2 separate regions of the Homo sapiens genome follow, and region 2 is linked to region 1. Evidence: promoter capture Hi-C in 16 types of primary human blood cells and fetal thymus (Javierre and others, 2016). All regions are on one chromosome and are shown on one strand. Each heading gives the region's core, a stretch centred on a gene start or on the middle of the fragment in contact. The rest is flanking DNA. Distances are from core to core; before and after follow the strand shown. Region 1 holds the start of CDK16 (cyclin dependent kinase 16). Region 2 holds the start of KDM5C (lysine demethylase 5C).

Evidence for each region. Contacts are between HindIII fragments. The CHiCAGO score rates a contact against its expected background, and 5 or more counts as called.
Region 2: a contact is called between the fragment with the promoter of KDM5C here and the fragment with the promoter of CDK16 in region 1, in 1 of 17 cell types (neutrophils). The highest score is 5.5, in neutrophils.

Annotation. Positions count from the first base shown.
Region 1 is chrX:47,215,843-47,221,788 of GRCh38, forward strand. CDK16 (cyclin dependent kinase 16) reads left to right here and starts at 2,839. Exons shown (of 16, transcript NM_006201.5): 1 at 2,839-3,263. LOC105373194 (a long non-coding RNA gene) reads right to left here and starts at 2,808. Exons shown (of 3, transcript XR_949047.4): 1 at 2,661-2,808; 2 at 1,164-1,292. RefSeq lists silencers at 2,173-2,282, 2,983-3,142, 3,163-3,272, 3,283-3,352 and enhancers at 2,473-2,592, 2,713-2,782, 2,926-3,565. The HindIII fragment of the contact is 18,663 bases long and covers 733-5,946 here.
Region 2 is chrX:53,221,227-53,226,644 of GRCh38, forward strand. KDM5C (lysine demethylase 5C) reads right to left here and starts at 3,981. Exons shown (of 26, transcript NM_004187.5): 1 at 3,514-3,981. The coding sequence starts at 3,663. It also overlaps a transcript of IQSEC2 not described here. RefSeq lists enhancers at 3,523-3,622, 3,863-4,242, 4,081-4,375, 4,253-4,302. The HindIII fragment of the contact is 15,929 bases long and covers 2,289-5,418 here.

The DNA of each region.
Region 1 (5,946 bases), core at 1,589-4,088:
AGAGTTACCGTGCTCTGTCCTTGGTCTTGGCTGAGTGCTCCAGACAATTGAAAGCACCAGTCTGGCCACTGCTACATCTTTGCCTTCTTCTATTGTACTGGCTCCTGGTGCCTGAGGAGTCCATTCATACTTCTGTTCCTCAACTAACCAATAATTTATCTACCTTACTTAGAAACAAGATCCCTCACTCTTCTACTCAAACCTGAGTGTAAGGAATAGCTCAACCTGTTCTGAACTGGCTTGATTCCCATCACAGCCTGTGCCCACATCTGCTGCCTCCTGGGCCAGTAGTTCCTGGTCCTGGGCACAGTATATGCCCTTGTCCACCTCCTTCTGATCATTTTATTTTCTTGGCCTGCTCTGCTTGGGTGACCTTATCCTTCCACAGTTTCTTCTTCCCCACTAGGACGTTGAGGACAGAGGCATTTTCCCTTTGGTATCTAGTGGTGATACTGTCAAAGGGAAAGTTTTTCCCACCACAGGAACTTTCCCATTATTGCTCTAGAGTACCCTAGACACTCCACACCGCAGTCCACTGGCCACACCACTACAGCAGCTGAGGCTTGAACACAACTGTTGTCTTCTTTCTCCAGTATGCCAGCTCCTTTGCGGATACTCTATAGACACCTTGTTCACTGCACCTCCCCCATTACGGCTCCATGTCTTCCCCACCACAACTCCTGGATCTCCTTGACACCTTATTCGTGCCTGACACCCTTCTCCATCAAAACAAGCTTTTGAGTCATGCATGAATCCTGGTTGCATCTTAGTTGTTCCCCCTCCACCTCATTCCATTTTACTTCTGCGGTTTGTCTACCAGTCTACCATTGTTAACACCAGCCAGATGGGAGATCAGGGCTTAGCAGGCGGGGGTTGCGTCATTGCACCGAGCCCCCTGCACCCAGCAGCCACAAAGGATAGGGTGGGACAAAGGTTTCTCTTGTCACTGCCTGGAACTATTTGCCCACCTCCTTCTGATCATTTTATTTTCTTGGCCTGCTCTGGCAGGCATTCAACAAACATTTGTTGTGTGCTGTGTGCCAGTCACTTTCTAGGCACGTGAGACAGCAGTGGATAAAACAAAGATCCCTGTCCTCTTGGGGTTTTACGTTCTGCTAGGTTGACACCCAGAATAGATTATAAACACAGTAAGCAAATTGTACCTTAGAAGTTGATCAGTGCTCTTCAAAAGGCGAGGAATAGAGCCCGATCTGGGGATCTGGAATGATGGCAGTGCAGGTAGGAATTTTTAAATCGGAAAGGCTTCATGGAGATGACTTTGAAGCAAGCACCTGGAAGAAGTGAGAGAATGAGGCACGTGGATGTGGGCCAGCAGCATTCCAGGCAAAGGGAACCACAGCAAATGCAAAACCCCTGAGGCTGGATTGTGCCCGTTTCACTCAAACAGCTAGAAAGAGCGCTAGTATGGTGGCAGTGAGTCAGGGGAAGAAGAGGAAGAGATGAGGTCAGAGAAGTGATGAGCCTGTTCTATGCCAAGGCGAGGACTTTTATCTTTGTCAAATATTTCCACTCCCATCATGGCCCGGGAAATCTCACTAATGTAAACCTTACTGAAAATCCTAACTGCTGTGATCAAGGCTGCCATAAAGGGAAGCCCGGAAGAGGCGGGGAGGCTGCCTTGGAACAGGGTAGTGTAAGGATGTGCCAGAAGGCCTGCTGGAGGTTGCAGCCCTTTGAGCTGGACTTGGGGATAGTGTGGTTTTCCAGGCAGAAGGAAGTGAAGGATTAGGTCGGCCTGGTAGTACTTGGCACACAACATGCGCCCAATAAATAAAATGGAAATAAAACCGCGGAGTGTTCTACTTGTGTTGACTGACATCAAAACAAAACAAAAAACCCTCAGAGTGAGGGGAGGCACGGGAGGGGCTGTGCCGGGCAAGAGAGGTGGCAGGAAAATCCAACGCACGGCGCCTATGCAAATACTCGTGTGAGGCAGAAAAGAGGCTCCGCCCCGCTCGAAGTTCCAAGCATGCGCAGTAGCGGCTCCTGCGCCTCTAAGGATCCGCCTCTTTCCTTCTTTCTCAGCCTGGGTTCCACCCCGGGAGGCCCGCTGTATGAGATGGAGGGCGGGCTAAAGGCGGGACGAGACTCGATTGAGCGCAATTATGACCAATCACCTTGCGGAATATTCGGCCTATAGCGAAGGAGGAGCTCAGAACAAAAAGGAGACCCCACCCCCGCCGACGGTGAAAACCTATGAAACCTGGGCGGAGGCGTGCGGAGTCGGGTAGAGAGCGAAATCACGCCTCTTCAGTCAGCCACGCCCTTTATTCTTGCTCGGCCTCGCCACAGAGAGCAAATCAGATTGGCTGGGCGACAACCTCAAAGGGCGGGGCTGCACACGTTCACTACGGGAATGAGGTAGCGGTGGAGGGGGCAGTTGGGCGGGGATAGGCCGTCCTAGCTAAGGTGGTAAAGGCCAATAACTCTTCAGGCTGCCTCTCCTCGAAAAGTCATCTTCTCGCGAACCTTTAAAATGCCTTCCTCCCCAAGCACCTCAAGGGACTAGAACTGAGTGCTTCATTTGTCTTTTTTCCTCCTTGCAAAAGTCCCGTTTGCCACCATGGGGATGTACCAAGTGAGACCGAGTAGGGGGAACGAGTGGTGATTGACGCGCCAGGTTACTGGCCACTGCTCACCTAGGCGCTAGCAAACTTCTGCCAAGATCGGAACTGAGTACTAAACAGCCTCCACAGTTCTCCCTGGTGCCGTCTCCGGCTTGGCGCCGCATCCTCCTCTGGGCTCGCGATGGCCGCGTCCCCTCCCGCTGCGGACGGGTCCTTTGGTACATGCAGTCCGAGGTGAGTCCCCTCCTTTCCACTTCACCCTTCCGAGCGCCTGCGTGCGCATGCGCGGAGCGCGGCGCGCGCGGCGGTTGGGCCGTTGGCTGTTCGGCCCTGGGATCCGCCGCCACTCCGCGATCAGACCGCTCTGTGCCGCGAGCCGCCGTGAGCACTCGGATTCAAGCCGGCGCCAACGAGTCCGGGGGCATCGCCCGCAGCGGCCAAGCTCATGGCCGGCTGAGCGGGACGCCGCCTCCGCCTCAGCCACCGCCGCCGCCGCCGCCTCCTCCTCCTCAGCCGGCGGCGGCCCGGGCCCAGCAACCATGGCTGAAGACTACTGGGACGGGCGCCTGCGGCGAACAGGAGGAGAAGGAGGTCGCGCGGCCTCATCCCGGGCCGCCGCCCCAGGCGCCGCCGCGCCGGCCCCGCGGCTCTGAGGTTGCTCGCGCGCCCCCGCCGGTGAGCGCGTCCCCGAGGCGTGGAGGCTGCCCCTCCTCCTTCAGAACCCACCTCGGGCGGTGCCCAGGGGTCTGGGCTGCGGGGCTGGCAGGTGCCCCCACCCCCGGCGAATTTCCCAGAATGCACCGGGGCGGGGGGTCATTTGGGGCCTCCCTGACCTTGGCCCCGCCCTGGGCCTGTCCTGGGAGCTGGGGTTGGGTAGTGCTGTGGGTGCTAATGGGGACCTGGGGGAGTCAAAGGACCAAAGGGTGTGGAAATGGGTGACAATGGGGTGAAAGACTTGGGGGGGTTGCTGATGGGGGTCGGAGCATGTGGCAGTAAGCCTCACGCCAATAAGTCGTGTAAGGTTCAAGGCCCCGTGTGTGCTTGTGGAAGGAGGGCGGGGTGCGGAGCGGGTGAGGGACCCGAGGGTGTATAACGGGGGGTAGGGTGTCGAGGAAGTTCTAAGACATGCTCATAGGGATTATGTCCGCAGAGAGGCCCGGTGTGTGTTCATGGGGGACAGGGTGGCACAGGTACCAGAACGTGTGTTGGTGGGGTCAGGGCTCTGAGGCCTGGTGCGTGGCGATGAGGCCCTGGATGGTGTTAATACTGCGTGTCTGTCCGTGGGGCCTGCAGTGTGTGAGAATGCAGTGTGTGCTTGTGGAGGGCAGGTAGCTGAAGGACTCGAGTGTGGTGTGTGCGCCAGTGGGGGTCATGGCTGTAGAGGGTGTATGCCTGTGGCCTCGAAGGTCTAGGTAGTTTGGGACCCAGTATATGCTAATGAGGGCAGAGTGGAGGAAGGACCTGAGGGTATCTAACGGAGGAAGGACTGTGGAATACCTGAGCCTGGCCTAAAGGAGATGAGAATTGCGTGTCTGTCTGGGCCCAGGAAGGAGTGGTGGGGAAGTGTCTTAGCACTGTCAGAGGCTTAGTGGACGAAGGGTAAAGGTGATGTGAGGTGTGAGTGTGTCCATGGACACAGGGAATGTGAGTCTCGAGGGCACACTAGGAAGGAGCAGGGTAATAGAAGTACTGGTGGTTGCTAATGTGGGTTTAGAGACATAGAGGCACTTCAATGTGTGCCATTTCGAGAGTCAGCTGTGTGAAGTCTGGAATATGCTAATAAGCATCAGAACCTTGTGAAGATTGTGCCCTTGTGTCCGCGGAGGACCAGAGTATGTTGAGGTTCCAGGGGGTGCTACTCGGGGGTAGGGCTGCGGAGGGGATCTAGTGTGTAATAAGGGGGATCAGGGCTTTCATGAAGGGATCTAAGTGTGAACCAACAAGGATTATATCTGTGGAGATATCTCTGAGCAGAGAGCAATAGAGGACAGGAATGTGTGATGATCTCGGTGTGCTAAAGTGGATTACAGCTAGGGAGGGCTGAAGTGTGTGCTAATGGGAGTCAGGGCTGAATGAGACCTGTGTGCACTAATGAGGGTCAGGCCATGGTAGAACAGTGTGTTTGTGTGTCCCTGCGGAATAGGGCTGAGTAAGGGTTCAGGGTGCACTAATGGGGAGGCAGGACTGTGTGAGGCCCGGCGTGTGCTAATAGAAATCAGGCCTGAGTGAAGACTCAGTTTGTGCTGACAGAGGGGACAGGACAGTGGAAGGACTGGAATGTGTGTTAAGGATGGTCGTAGCTGTGAAGGGGCCTGAGTGTGGGTAACACTGGTTAGAGATCTATCTGTAAGGTTCACTTTATGTTAATAGCATTCAGAGCAGCATGAAGAAGGTCCAGTGAGTGCTAATGTGGGTCAGCTATAGAGTACCCCAAGTGCATGTTAATAGAGGTCAGAATCATGTAGGGGGAACAGTACGTTAATGAGGGGAGTCAGTACTATGGAGAAGGTAACAAGCAGCTAGGCCAGGGAGGGGCCCAAGAATGTGGTGGCAAGAGTTACTTAGAGGAGGCTAAGTGTGTGCTGACAGAGTTCAGGGCGGTATGTTATGTGTTAGGGCTTTGAATGCTGATGGGTATATGAGATAATAGCAGGTAAGATGTAGTGAGGCCTCCTTGAGGGTCTAGCGTGTATTAATGGGGATCAGGACATAGGGTGCGATGACCAAGTCCTTAGTGGTTGGTGTGTTGAGTATCCTTGAGTATGAGAGTAGTCTGAGGATGGGTGTATGTCTTTGGGGATCAGGAAGGGTCAGGCAGGACATGTGCCTTTTTTGGGGTAAGGTTTTATGTCCAGTTTCTTGCTCCCTCCTTTTTTGAAATCTAAAAAGCTCATTCAACTGAAATGATATTTAAAAGTTTCCTTGCGTATAAATGTTCAATTATCTCTGTTCACAGGGGCATGTCTGAGACCCCCATCCCCCTTTCTGGGAGTGTTATGTGATATACAGATTTTACACCCCATCTTCCTAAAATCCCAAAAAACTGAACTCCAGAGCATGTCCAGCCCTTGGGGTTTCCAGTTAGAGGTCGTGGACCCATGGCTCCTCCTGGCTTCCTCCCCATCCTCCATTCAGCCCTACTTCCAGTCTCCCCCAGCCCCTCCCCTACTCCCTGTCACAACATGCAAAGCAACTGGGTATCTGTGCCATATGGGGACACAAGGTTGTCTTTGGGAGCTGGCCATGCTTTACCTTCCTTGCCTTAGGCCCAGTATTCAGCCTCCCAGGTCAGGATGTTTTGTGGTTATCCTGGGTTCTCCATGGATGGACCTCATCCTGTATCTGAGGTCTTTCTGCT
Region 2 (5,418 bases), core at 2,731-5,230, 6.0 Mb after region 1:
CCCTAAACCTTCTCCACACCCACATTAATTCCTTATCCCCTAGGCACGTGCTGTAGGACACACAGGCCTGGGAGTACTGGAAAGCACACAGGATCTAGAGTCAGAAGATATGGGTTCATGTTCTAGATCCGCTACTTACTAGCTATGAGATTTTAGCTTTCTGAACCTGTTTTCTCATCTGTGAGGTGGGAATATGAACTCTAGCCCTGGCTTCCTTGCCAGACCAATATGGAAAATTAAAACTAGTTTTCAAATGAAAATGTTATTCAAAGGAGTCACCGTTATGACCTGACATCTAAGGCTGACCACACCTCACAATACACATGCAGGGTAGCTCAGGTCCGATTGTGGCAGGACGTAAAGGTTTGGGCCTTTAATGTTTGTTCTCTCAGTTTAAAGGGCCTGAGATAGACACTGCAGGGAAGAGCAAGGAACAGGGAGCAAGTATGTGTATCACTCACCCAGTCTGGAAGGCTTCCTGTAGATCCTCTCTCATACACCTGCCTGGTACAGGAAGAGGCAGGGGAGGAAGCCCCAGGGGGTGGGGGTAAGTGCTGGGATGCCTGACTGTGGTGGCAAAGAATGGGAGGATTTGGGGAGGGAAGTCAGGGAAAGATCATGAAAGTGGGAGACACTCTGCTCTGCCAAGTTGGAGCTTGCTGTGTCCTGCCCAAAGGTCAGCTGTGAAGAACCCCCTCTCCAACACCCCTTTCCAACCTCCTATGCAGACCTCTCCTTCCCAGAGCCCTGGCTCCTGCTGGGGTGGTGAAATCAACCTAAAGTAACCTAAACCAATGTTCTCATTTTATAAATGGGGAAAGTGAGGCTCAGAGAAAAAAAGTGAAATTTCCAAAATTACATGCTGAGTTAGTGGTGGGGCCAAGAACCCACGTCTTCTGACCTCTGATCCAAGGCCTTTGCACTACACCAGACATCAATGTTCATACATACATGCATACACGTGGGCGGGGGGGAGAGACAGTGAAAGAGAAGAAAAACTGTTGACCTCTTCTGCACACACACTTTTAGAAAATGGGCTAGAGGACTCATATTTTGCATGCATACACAGACCACACTCCCCTGCCCCTACCAGCCAAAGCAGGTGGCAAACATCTGGGGCTCAGTAAGCAGGGACAAAAAAAAAAAAAAACAGGCAGGCCAAAATGGTATGGCTCAAATCCAGACAAGCTCCCCATGCCCTCTTGCCTCTCATCAGGATAGGGCACTCCCCTCAGCACAGGTAACCCAGCTAAAAAGGTGCTCAAACCCAAAACTCCGGGCACCCTTCTTTCCTGCTGAATCAAGTTCTAGACAATCAGTGCAACATCAAGCACCTGACAGGAAATGGCAGCCCTGGAATGCTACGGCAGGAGCCATGGATGCAACAGATACCTGGGAAGGCCCTGCAAACCGCCTGCCTTCATCTCCAGACTACTGTATGCCAAATGTATGTTGGTATTACTGGGATGTGGTGATAAAAAAAAGGCTGGCTACCTGATGAAGAAAGCAAGATCCTTCCAAACTCCACTGGGTCTACTCAGGGTACCCACACTCTCCTCCCACCCATCTTTCCCAAGCGTAGCAGTCACCTGCCCAGCAATTCAGGCCCCAAACCATCCTTCCTCCAGCAAACCTCCAATTCCCAGGTACCCACCCATATACAGGTTCCCACCCTGGGCCCAAGCATCACTTGAGCGAGTACTTCAAACTTCAACCAGAAGAAGGCCAGCTGCCTAAAGGTGGCCTAGGAGCTGCCATAGAGAAGGAAAAAACAAAACCAAACCAGAGAGCCAGGTATCCTGGATTAGAGAGAAGCACACTGTTGAGCAGTGAAAAGGACGGCCTCCTGCTGGCCATGCACACCTGGGACATGTCACTCTTCCCCTTCCTGATGCCCCAAAGCAGGGTAACAACACCTACACAAGGCCAGCCTGCCTAAGTCAGTCCAAGATAGAAAAAAGGAATTCAGGCCTCAACTACCCCCTACGTCAGCTATGCCTCTTTTTCCCACAGGCTTGCCCAACCACTTCAGGGAGTGCCTCCTTGAGGCTGCCCAGGACTCCTGCCTCTCCCTTCCACTAGCCTTCCTGACCCTCTACCCACTGCCACTCCCTCACCATGGACAAGGATACCTCAGAAATCTGTGGCCAGACTCCAAGAAGGAAGAAATTCGCTTACCCAACACCTCCTAGAGGATCTATCTGAAACCATCCTAGATCTGTGGCTGAGCACCAGAAAGCACCAAGTTGGATAAGGAGGCCTGTGGTGCCCTCCTCAGGTGGGAATGAAGCTTCCTATTCCATTTCAGCCAGGAGACACCCACTCAAAAACACCCTTTTCCAGCAAAGCTCAATTTCTGCCCTTGGAATCCCAACTGATCACTGAACATTATCATCACTTTTCCACCATATCAGCAAGGCAGCAGCTTGCCCTAGCCCTTGGGAGACTTCTAGCCTGAAGCCAGGCCTAGGAGGAAAGCTATGGCCTTTGTTGCTGACCCCTGGCAATCATGTTCCAAAAGGGACAGAATTCCATGGCTCCATTCTGTTCTGCGGGCCCAAGAGTGCCCTATCCTCTGGGATCTCCTACATCCTGGACCAGAGGAGAGTAGAAATCTTCTGAGAAGGACTCACACCCCACCACCAAGCTGACCGGTCCAAACATCTCCATAGGAAGTCAAGTCTGCGGGATGATGTGCAGAAAAGGCCTTGACATTGCCTTCAACGAGGAAAAGAAGAGGACAATTCCCTGAACCCACCTCAAGGGAGACAGAGCAATCCCTGTGAGACTGATTTCCTGACTGGTCCAGCAGGCCAGGATATTATCATAGATGAATTGGCCTGGCAAGGTATGAGTAAATATGAGTCAACCTACATAGGAATAAACCAATGACCACATCAAACACCCTCACAGTCACAATAATTACCACTTATCTAGTGCGTACTACATACAGACGCTACCTAGTTTAATTCAATCCTCTAAATAACCATTTCTGGGATCCATTTCACGGGCTCAGAGAGATTACTTCTACTTTCCCAAGGTCACACAGCTGCTCAGCTTCAAAGTGGAGTTTTGAACTCAAGTCTGTCTCCCTTCAGGACTGCGATCTTTCTATTAATACTATACTATGCTGCCTGCCTTAAAGGAAGTGATGACAACAGATTGGAGAAACGTCTTATTTTTACAGCCTCGACCTAGGTGGCCCGGGCTAAGAGATGTGCGGGGTGCCTCTCTGTGAACTCCCTCCGGCCCACTAGGAATCCCTGTCTTAAACCCGGAGTGATTCTGAAGGGCCGGGGTGGGGGTGGATCTCTGACTCCAGGTCACCTGTGGGCCTCACACCACGAGAGGACCCCTGGCCCAACACCCTTTTTCCGATCCGCGCCGCAACCACAACGGTCCCAGCCACCCCCTCTCCCCACCTCGAGCTGCCCTCCGCCCCAGACTTCGCCGCTGGCTATCCTACTGCTTCATTCCGTCTCGCCGCCGGCGAAAACCGGCCCCGGGGCTTACCGCGGGTGGGCGGATCTTGCAAATGCCCGATTTCTCTGCGATGGGCCTGATTTTCGCGATGTAGCCAAGAGGGTCTCGGAACTCGGCCCAGCTAGGCTCGAACACCGGGCACTCCGGTGGCGGTAGGAAATCGTCGGACCCCGGCTCCATGGTGGGCCCGAGGTCTGGGCCAGGGATCGGGAGGCTTGGACCGCCCTTAAGGACTCATGGCGCCGCCGCTGTTTGAAGCCGAGGCAATGCTCGGAGGCTAGGCCCTAAGCGGGGCAGCCGCCGCCCGCCGAGGGCCTAAGGGGGCGTGTGGCCGTCGTGCTCTGAGAGTCTCAGGCTGACTCTACTGCTACCGCCTCTTCGTCCCGCTCCGTTTCTTCCAAACTGTGTGGTTGCCTCCCCACTACCGCAGCCTTCGCCACCACAGTTACCTCCCAAACGCCGCGGCCTTCAGCGCCGCCGCCGCCATCTTGGTTTGTCAGCGTCTCCCCTCCCCACACCACAACAAACCGGATCCTTCCGCGGGGTGTCCTTCCGAGCCTCGTATACGTTGCGTCACACCAAGCCCTAGGAAACCTTCATATAGTGGAGACCGAGCTAAATAGGCTGGTATGGGTTTCTATTTGGAAGGGGTTACTCAAAAGTACCACCCCGGACTGAGAGAAAATAGTTCATTGCAACGGCGGAGGAACAAGATTGTAATTAGTTTGCCGGATCGTCTTTCCGGATGGACCGGCGGTGCACGTTTAAAGGCCAGTGATGCGCATGCGCGTTATGGAGACCGGAAGAGGAGCTGGTGTCCGTGGGTGGTGGAGTCAAACCGGCACTCCCCCGCAGACCTCAACCAGGTCGCTAGCCCCGCACCAGTGTTCTCTGTCCCTTCTCCCTGGTCTTAACGGTATGGGCCGCGGAAGGCGGCTCTGGGAGCCTGATTGCAAAGGACCCCTTATGCTGGCCCGCGGGATGGGGGGAGATGTACTAGGCTCCAGCTCTAGACACTGACACCTCTGGGGCTTTGAAATAAGGAAGGCAGGAAGCTGCTCACTCCCCGGGGATTATGGATTTTTAGGATTCTGAGTCCCAAGTAAAGGAAGGAAATCTTTATTTCATCCAAGGTTACAGGTAGAGAGATGGGGTTTCGATTCTTACCCCCCAAAAGTCACTGGGAGTCAGCATTTTAATGAACGCTTTCAACTGTTCTGTATTCACTTTTACCATGTACACATTTGTGGCATATACTCCTACAAAATAAGCCTGTGTGTATGTATACTTTAACTATTGGATGTTTAGCAACGGCGTATTTATCCAGTGTCAACTGTGTAAAACACCTGTTTGCCCATTTGTGAGCCTACAGTGCACTTACCAAACATCCGTGTACTTTTATTGTATTTATTGTGTATAGCCCCTGTGCATTTGGTACCAACTGTATGTACATTTAGTCCTATCGTGTGCATGTTCCTTGAGCAGTTTCTGAATAGGTTCATTGCAACTACAGTACTTTGAATGAGTATCATCAAACCAGTACTTTGTACATATACATCAGGCATCTACTGATTGGAGGATCATCTGTGTCATTCATCAGCTGTGGACCTACTGCATATAGTTTGAACACCTACTGTGCAAATATTTGAGTACTTGCGTACATGCTGATTAAGTAATTTTGTTTTCCCCCATCAGACTATGAATTCCTTAAGGGCAGGGACCATGTGGCCTTATACATCCTTAGCACTTGGCATGTTAAGCAGTAAATGAATGTTGAGTAAACAAAAGAAAAATGAATAAATGTCCTTAGTATATATTGACTGAAAAATATGAATACTTTTTGCAAACATTTCCTGTTTAACATATTAAACATCCACTGTAAGCTCGAGGCAGATAGGGAGTGTCATACCTTCGTGCAGTTAACTGTTCCTAATC